Linked DNA regions of Homo sapiens: regions 1 and 3 are each linked to region 2. The links are contacts of gene promoters, found by promoter capture Hi-C in blood cells and fetal thymus (Javierre and others, 2016). All regions are on one chromosome and are shown on one strand. The core of a region is centred on a gene start or on the middle of the fragment in contact, and the rest is flanking DNA. Distances in the headings are between cores, read along the strand shown. Region 1 overlaps AQR (aquarius intron-binding spliceosomal factor). Region 2 holds the start of SLC12A6 (solute carrier family 12 member 6). Region 3 overlaps AQR (aquarius intron-binding spliceosomal factor).

The links. Contacts are between HindIII fragments. The CHiCAGO score rates a contact against its expected background, and 5 or more counts as called.
Region 1: a fragment that was not itself captured here is called in contact with the fragment with the promoter of SLC12A6 in region 2 in 5 of 17 cell types (total CD4 T cells, total CD8 T cells, naive CD8 T cells and 2 more); the score reaches 7.7 in total CD4 T cells.
Region 3: a fragment that was not itself captured here is called in contact with the fragment with the promoter of SLC12A6 in region 2 in 1 of 17 cell types (naive CD8 T cells); the score reaches 5.9 in naive CD8 T cells.

Annotation. Positions count from the first base shown.
Region 1 is chr15:34,942,042-34,944,741 of GRCh38, forward strand. It overlaps AQR (aquarius intron-binding spliceosomal factor), which reads right to left. Exons shown (of 35, transcript NM_014691.3): 6 at 2,247-2,387; 7 at 1-39. It also overlaps the pseudogene RPL36AP8. Among named protein-coding and RNA genes, the nearest start is that of AQR, 26 kb to the right of the region's middle. The HindIII fragment of the contact is 1,540 bases long and covers 576-2,115 here.
Region 2 is chr15:34,336,347-34,339,046 of GRCh38, forward strand. It overlaps SLC12A6 (solute carrier family 12 member 6), which reads right to left and starts at 1,435. Exons shown (of 26, transcript NM_001365088.1): 1 at 986-1,435; 2 at 64-406. The coding sequence starts at 334. RefSeq lists a silencer at 1,290-1,849. The HindIII fragment of the contact is 4,998 bases long and covers 1-2,700 here.
Region 3 is chr15:34,918,014-34,920,713 of GRCh38, forward strand. AQR (aquarius intron-binding spliceosomal factor) reads right to left here. Exons shown (of 35, transcript NM_014691.3): 14 at 2,319-2,421; 15 at 245-365. Among named protein-coding and RNA genes, the nearest start is that of AQR, 50 kb to the right of the region's middle. The HindIII fragment of the contact is 9,536 bases long and covers 1-2,700 here.

The DNA of each region.
Region 1 (2,700 bases), core at 96-2,595, 610 kb after region 2:
GATAAGCTGCTGTACTTGACTTCGTATCAAGTCTACTTCCTGTTTAGGGCATGAAGAAAATAAGTTTATAAACATACCAGCATTTCTACCTAAGTCTTTACATAAGAAGTATACTGCCTTTTTAAGTCCTGGAGGGAAAACATGCCACAAATATTTTCAAGTTAATATTTTGATATTAAGAAGTTCAATGCTTTAAAAAAGACTCCATCCTTATTATCTACAGATTTTGTACTTGCAAATTCATATACTAATAAAAATGTATTTGTAACCCCAAAATCAACACTCCATGTGCTTTCACAGTCATCCAGATGGCCCAAACAAAAATCTGAGTTGTCCGACGTGCACATTCTCAGGTGAGACTGAGCTGATGCTCTGCTTCATTCTCAGCTCTCATACTGTAAGAAACAAGTATCCTTTTTGTGGTCTATTGAGTACTATTTTTTTTGGCACGCTTGTGCTTTTTGATGATTTCGCTGTTTAAAATGGCAACAAGCCCAAGGCTGAAGTGCTGTCTGATGTTCATGGGTGCAAGAAGGCTGTGATATGTCTTACAGAGTAAATACGTATGTTAGATAAGCTTCGTTCAGGCATAATTACAGTGCTGTTGGCAGTGAGTTCATGGTTAATGAATCAATAATATACAATAAATAAGCTGTCTTTAAATAGAAACACACATAAAATAAGGCTATGTATTGATAGTTTGTAAAATGTCATGACCAAGGCTTGCAGGAACCTAACCCTGTATTTCCCCAAGGAGTAATGGTTCAGCATTAGCTCATTCAATGTTCATAGCTACTTTATAAAATGAACATAACTACCTCAAATAAGAACTGACTGCATATTTTAAAAGATAAAGCATTTCAATAATAAACTAGTTTGGTAAGTTGGCTAAAACTATCACCAAATTACTAATACTAATAAAATCTTGTTTCTGTTTAGTTTCTGATAAAAAAATCACATCTATTTATATTTCTATTTGTTCTGTTTAGTTTAATAAATGTTAAAGAGGCTTTCTGTGCCGATAACGCTCACGCAAGCATGGTTAACGTCCCTAAAACCCGCCGGACTTTCTGTAAGAAGTGTGGCAAGCACCAACCCCATAAAGTGACACAGTACAAGAAGGGCAAGGATTCTCTGTATGCCCAGGGAAAGCGGCGTTATGACAGGAAGCAGAGTGGCTATGGTGGGCAAACTAAGCCAATTTTCTGGAAAAAGGCTAAAACTACAAAGATTGTGCTAAGGCTTGAGTGCATTGAGCCCAACTGCAGATCTAAGAGAATGCTGGCTATTAAAAGATGCAAGCATTTTGAACTGGGAGGAGATAAGAAGAGAAAGGGCCAAGTGATTCAGTTCTAAGTGTCATCTTTTATTATGAAGACAATAAAATCTTGAGTTTATGTTCAAAATAAATAAATAAATAAATAAATAAATAAATAAATAAAAATAAATGTTAAAGAGATAACAGTGGTATCCAGTGCAGGCATCATAAATCTTTTTTTATGCCTTTAAAAGATCCATGTGAGATAGTACATGGAAACAGGTAATAATCATCCATCTATTAACACTCAGTCTTCAGAATAAGAAAGAACTCCATGCATTCCTCCTGCATGGGTGTAAGTGAATTATCAATTCAGAGGCACTAAATAAATATGTGTATTTATCAGCTAACCACACAGGAAAGCTCAAATAAAATATTACTGAAAATATTTAATTTTTTAGAAGATAATCTTATGAAGGATGAAAATGTATCACACACAAGACATTTTCAAAGATCATTTACACTTGGCCTTTATCAGTCAACTCAAAATACAACTCTCCTGTTGACTAACCAGCCTATGCATAAGGCATGATGAAAAGCAATGAAACTACATTCCTGTATGTATATGCAGTTTGTGGCACAGATCTCATTACTCCAATTCCATATAACCAGTCTCCTTGCTGCTTCTCATTTTTGTGCTCTCCCTTTAGAGTTTCAGTTCTTATAATCATTTTTCTTAAGAGTCTAGATAGAAAAAATTAAGTATCAATTTCAAATCTATTAAAAAGTGAACATATCTTATAAAAACATATCTTAAAGACTTATAAAATGGTTTTACTGATAAGTGGCTGAAATCAAGCTTTTAGCATTATCCTTATTGCCTGCTATTATGGATGAATGGAGTTGGCTACAGAGGTAATTTCATCTAAACTCAACCTAAAAGAACAAGAAAACTTGAAAATTACCCCAAAATATAAAGTAAAAGTACCAAACTATTGAAGCAATGATCAAGAAAAAGTAGTAAGACTGTCTGTTCATGAAGTGAAAATTCACCATCAGTTTCAGCTAATGCCGCCTTCAAGATGTGTTTAAAAAAGAATGGGAAGTGGTCTGGCTTCTTCTTAAAAATCTGAAAAGAAACAGAATAAAATTCATTTTGTATTGGCTTGCTCACTTAAGCTTTAAAGAAGCCCTAGTAGGCTTTTTAGCAGTCTATTAAAAAAACCAAATAATTACAAAAGGGTTATTTGTATATGTATAAAAGAAGCATCACGTGCTTACTTATAATTAATGGCAAGTCAAATACAGGTTTCTGACAGGACTATGAGAGAGCTGCAGAACCCTTTAGCTAATAAAATAATGGCTTTCATTTCTTTAGTTTTTCCTCTGTGGATTATGCCTGTATTTAGCTTAGGCTTTGTTTTCTTATTAAGGATCTGAAG
Region 2 (2,700 bases), core at 185-2,684:
GATGGTCATCTTGGATAAAGAACCCAGTAATGAAAGTATGCTGCGGTCTGTGTTTCTACTTACCCTCGATGACATCCTGGGGGTGAGAAGTCCGGTCACTGGGTGGATCCAGTGCAACAGTTGCCAGCGAAGTGGTGGCCCCAGACATCTCACTCATAGGCTCACTCCGGCTTGTTTCAGGCACGCTTTCCCGGGAGCTAAATCTTACTCGGGAACTAGATCGAGAGCTGAGGTCCGGACTGGTGTCTGACAAACCTGGAATGTCATCGATCTTTGTCGGTGTCACCATGAACCGAACTGAAGCCATCTTGGTGGTGGTTTCTGGAGGATGCATTTTGTTCTTTTTAAGAACAAAAAAAGTGGGGGGAACCTCGCAAAATCTTCCTCTTACGCTAGCTACTTTTGACTGCAATACAAAAGATAACTTGAAAAATAACACATTTCAATAACCTTGATTCACACCACACAAAAAGCCCCAACTAAGAATACTTCTACTCAGAATTCAAGCCGACTGTCCTAGAAAGTGCATCACCAATAGGTGAATATATTTTTTAAGAGAGAAAAAAACAAAAAACAAAAAGACAAAACAATGCCAATCTTGTGTGACTTCTTTCCTTCAGAATGAAGAGCTACCTAGCTAACCCCTCTGGTCCGGGGCTGAAGGCTCAGTGCCATGGTCTCAGGGCAGCAGATGAAGCCTCCCTCCCCTCAGCCCCCAGTTTCCTGTCGAGGTAGTCCTTTATCTGGTGAGTGTCCCACGGTTCTAGTTGGGCGAAGTGCGTGCAGGCAAACCTTTATCAGGCGACTATAGCGTGGATCAGATTGCTAAAAGGTGTACACCCGGCCACCTGTTGTGTATCAGGTGAATACCCCACAGGTCTGGCTGGGGGGAGGTGTATGCAAAGCCACCCGGTGTTTTTGATGTCGACAATCCACTTGGGTCTGGTGGGAAAGGTGCACATGCATAACGGGAAAAATAACCCACACTACTGAGAGAAGGGTGAGCAGAGGAGGATGCAGGGGCAGAGCGGATTCCTGTCTCCGAGAGGTCGGTGGGGGTGGCGCGCCCGCTCTTCTCCTAGCAGAAAGGTCCTCGGGGTCTGGGAGGAGGTTAGCGGATCAAGACACCTCGGACTGCAGCTCAGAGTCGTGGCAAGTCGTAGCTAGTCCACTGAGCCACGGTCCGCTCGCTAGGTTTCTCCTGCGTGTGACAGGACGAGCCACCCCCTTTGCCGGAGGCGCGTTCTCCCCTACCCCCGCCCCGGCGCAGGTCACCCCCTCGTCGTTCTTCCTCAGGGTCCCAGTAGAGGAGGAGACGGCCACGCAGGCTGGCCTGACTGGGCAGCAGGGTGAGGGAGAAGGAGGTCGCAGGTGCAGTATCCCGGCGCCAGCTGATGCGGGTGCGCGCGCAGCTGTTGTTTACTAGCCGGTAACTGTTTCAGAGCCGCGGCGCGCGCAGGGTTCGCGCTGCCGGGGCTGGCGCCCCCTCCCCGGCCCGACGCCAGAGCAGCAGTTACGTGACCTGGCCTCCCCCAGCCCCGGGCCCGACGGGGTGCGCCCGCGCCGCCGCAGCCCTTCCCTTCCCTCCCCGCTTGTTCCTCATTCGAGGTGAACCTTGCGAAGAGAAGCCCGGGGGTGCAGTGAGAGGGCGGAACCGTCCCGCGGGCGCCCGAAAGCCCCGCCCAGCCGCCGCAGCCCGCGGTGACCGAGTGCAGCGCGCCTGCGCTCGCCGCGGGACACGGCAGGCGGGGCGGGGCCGAATACGAGTGGCCAGGGGCACGACGGGAGCTGTAGTCCAGGGCACGGCCCGACCCGCGTGAAGAGGGGAATAATCCTTTTCCTCGGTCCGGCTGTGCTGCACACTCACTCTGGAAGCATCCTAGAGGGCGGGCGCTGCTCCTCACCCTCAGAACCCGGGGAGCCATTTCTCTTTCATGAGTGTCTCTGAAAACATCATTCATGATTTCTTTAACCAGAAACACCGCTCCTATACCTGGGAATAACCCTCATTGTAATTTTTATGTAGAGGTCTACATACAAATAAACCACTTTTATGTAAAAAAAAAAAATTAAAACTATAAAGTAGGCCTGGCGCGGTGGTTCACGACTGTAATCCTAGCACTTTGGGAGGCTGAGGCGGGCGTGATCGATCACCTGAGCTCAGGAGTTCCAGACCAGCCTGGCCAGCATAGCGAAACCCCGTCTCTACCAAAAATTCAAAAATTAGCCGGGCGTGGTGGCGTGTGCCTGTAATCCCAGCTATTCCTTAGACTGAGGCAGGAGAATCGCTTGAGCTTGGGAGGCGGAGGTTGCAGTGAGCCGAGAACGCACCATTGCATTCCAGCCTGGGGGGACAAGAGCAAAACTCCGTCTCAAAGAAATAAATAAATAAAAATAAAACTATAAAGTACCTTAAACACATTTGTCCTACTTTAATTTTTTGTTGTTGTTCTTGTCCTTTTAATAAATGCTATGTCCACTTTCTAGTCAGACTGAAAGTTCCACTAAATAATACGTTTTTTTATACCTGGAGAAGACGTTGATGTATTTTCTCAAATCCATTCCATGTTTTCACCACTACATTTGTCGCTAGAATATTTTTTCTTAGTGTTTATTTAATGTATAAATGGTGGTGTTCGATAAATTCTGACTCACCAATGTTTTGTTTGAAAAGCTATTTCCTATAGCTGTGATCAAGAC
Region 3 (2,700 bases), core at 164-2,663, 580 kb after region 2:
TTAGGGCTTTATGGTCGTATTTTTTACAGGGTGATATGTGTATAGTTAAATTTAATAAAAACCCTTAGTGCTAAAGCATTCAAAATACTAAATCTTTTCTAGCTTCTAAAGTTAACTTCTGGGCACCAGGAAATTATCCTAATGTACAGAGTAGACTCAAGTACACTGCCTATAATTGCCAATTATATATGATAAATCTGAAATTGTTTCATTGTACAGCTGAATCCATACTTCTTTACCATACCTTCTCCAGAATAGTACTCAGTTGGGACAATATTTTCATCCCATATAATTTTCTCAGTTGGATACAAAGGCATCTGGTTCAACTGCTGAATCTGAGAAATTCGACGTTCATGACGAGATACCTAAAATAAAGGAAACAAGTTCATGCAGAAGGTTAGAAGCATCTTTTTTCAATCAAAATAATTTATGGAAGAAGTTTCATGCCTATCAGTTATTGTAGCAGTTCAACAAGCGATTTTTTTTTCTTTTCCTATTTTCTCCATAGATCAAAGATGAGAAACAAACCAATGGTAATGGTCTTTGGAATCAGACAGACCTGAGTTCAAATCCCAGCTCCTCTACTTATGAGTACTGTAAAAGCTGGGCACGTTACTTTAACCTTCCTAACCTTAGTTTCCTTTTCACTAAAACAGATAAAGTGCCACACATCTCAAGTTTCCAATGAAATATGAAATAGTGTCAAAGTCCCTGGCACATGCCAAGGGTTTAAAAACCATGACACTTAGCATTAATCAATGTAGGAAAAAATAGGAGCTCTAGGTTTTGGACTATAGTTTTCATTCTTATACTAACTAGCTATACCATCTGGGAAAGTTTATTAATCTATCACCCTAGTCTTCTCACTCTATGTTCCTTTCCATGATGACCTCTGTGTACCCTTAATATTAATAATCTATCTCAAATATGAAAATAAGTGTTACACCGGGTGCAGTGGCTCATGCCTTTAATCCCAGCACTTTGGGAGGCTGAAGCAGGTGGATCACCTGAGGTGAGGAGTTCAAGACTAGCCTGACCAACATGGTGAAACCCCATCTCTACTAAAAATACAAAAATTAGCTGGGCGTGGTGGTGCACACCTGTAATCCCAGCTACTCAGGAGGCTGAGGCAAGAGAATTGCTTGAACCCGGGAGGCGGAAGTTGCAGTGAACCGAGATTGCACCATTGCACTCCAGCCTGGGGGACAGAGTGAGACTCCATCTCAAAAAAAAAAAAAAAAGAAAGAAAAAGAAAAATAAGTGTTTATCTAATAATGCTAAAATGACATATTCTTAAAATGTATCACATTCTCTTCAGTGAAGATAGTATAATTATAGAAAAAATCATGATATCTAAACAATATGTATGTTTTAACTTTTTGATCATAAATTGAATAGTAGAAGAATCCAAAGCCTGGGGAAATCCTTTAGGGAAGGGAGGAAACAAAACATAATGTTGTAGCACTATACATTTTAAAAATTATTTTCTTTTGTTGGAACTATTTAAATTTTAGGAATAAAATTCTAGCCACAAGACCTTAATAGGCACAGGATCAACGTTATCCTCAAACTTATTTTCCATTAGAAGAATTCCTGAAAACAGGTTGGGCACGGTGATTCATGCCTGTAACCCAACACTTTGGGAGGCTGAGGTGGGTCAATCACTTGAGGCCAGGAGTTCAAGACCAGCCTGGCCAACGTGGCGAAACTCTATCTTCTACTCAAAATACAAAAATTAGCTGGGAGTGGTGGCACACATCTGTAATACCAGCTACTCGGGAAGATGAGGCACGAGAATCACTTGAACCTGGGAGGCAGAGGTTGCAGTGAGCTGAGATCACGCCACTGCACTCCAGCCTGGGCGACAGAGAGAGACTCGGTATCAAAAAAACAAAACAAACAAACAAACAAAAAAACAAAAAAAGAAGAAGAATTCCTGAAAAAAATCCTCATTTCTTTCTATTGCAAAGAGTTATTATTAATTCCAAAAACCTTACTCATGAGAGGTTTTACATTGTCAGAAAATAGCACAGGAATTTTTAGGAACTGAAAGAGACAATGAAAGTGATTTGCATATAAATAGTTGCTAATAGAATGATTCATCCAGAAAGTAGTTCGAAGAGATAAAATACTTGAGTAAAGAAATTCGAAAGATGAGAAAACAAAAAATCAAATGATAATACAATTCCAAAAACAAAATGGGAATTATCTGCCTAATCTTTGGCCCACAAAAAAATCTATATGAACCTACATCTTTAAGAATGACTTTAAAAGGCAAGGAAAACCACATGCAAAATTCAGAGAACATTAATATTTACCAGCAATTCTAGAAGAAATTCTTTATCAAAAGTTGTGTCTTCATTTTTAGGAAGAGTTGGCAACAAGCAGAGGTATGATGCCACCTGGTGGAGTGTGTTTGAACTGCAGAATAGAGAACAATATTTTATTCATAGTAACTTACTTCACTTCACTTTTGAAACATGTATTTTTACAAATAGCTTAAAAAAGCAAATATAATACTATGACATGGGCAGCAAATATCAAAAACCAGCAATGAAAATTAAGGCTTTAGTGCAGGGTTCTCAAAATATTTTCTGCAAACCTCTCATTGTACCCAAGATCCTTCTGGGCAGTCCCCAAGAACACTTTTAAATATTAATACCGGCAGGGCAAGGTGGCTCAGGCCTGTAATCTCAGCAC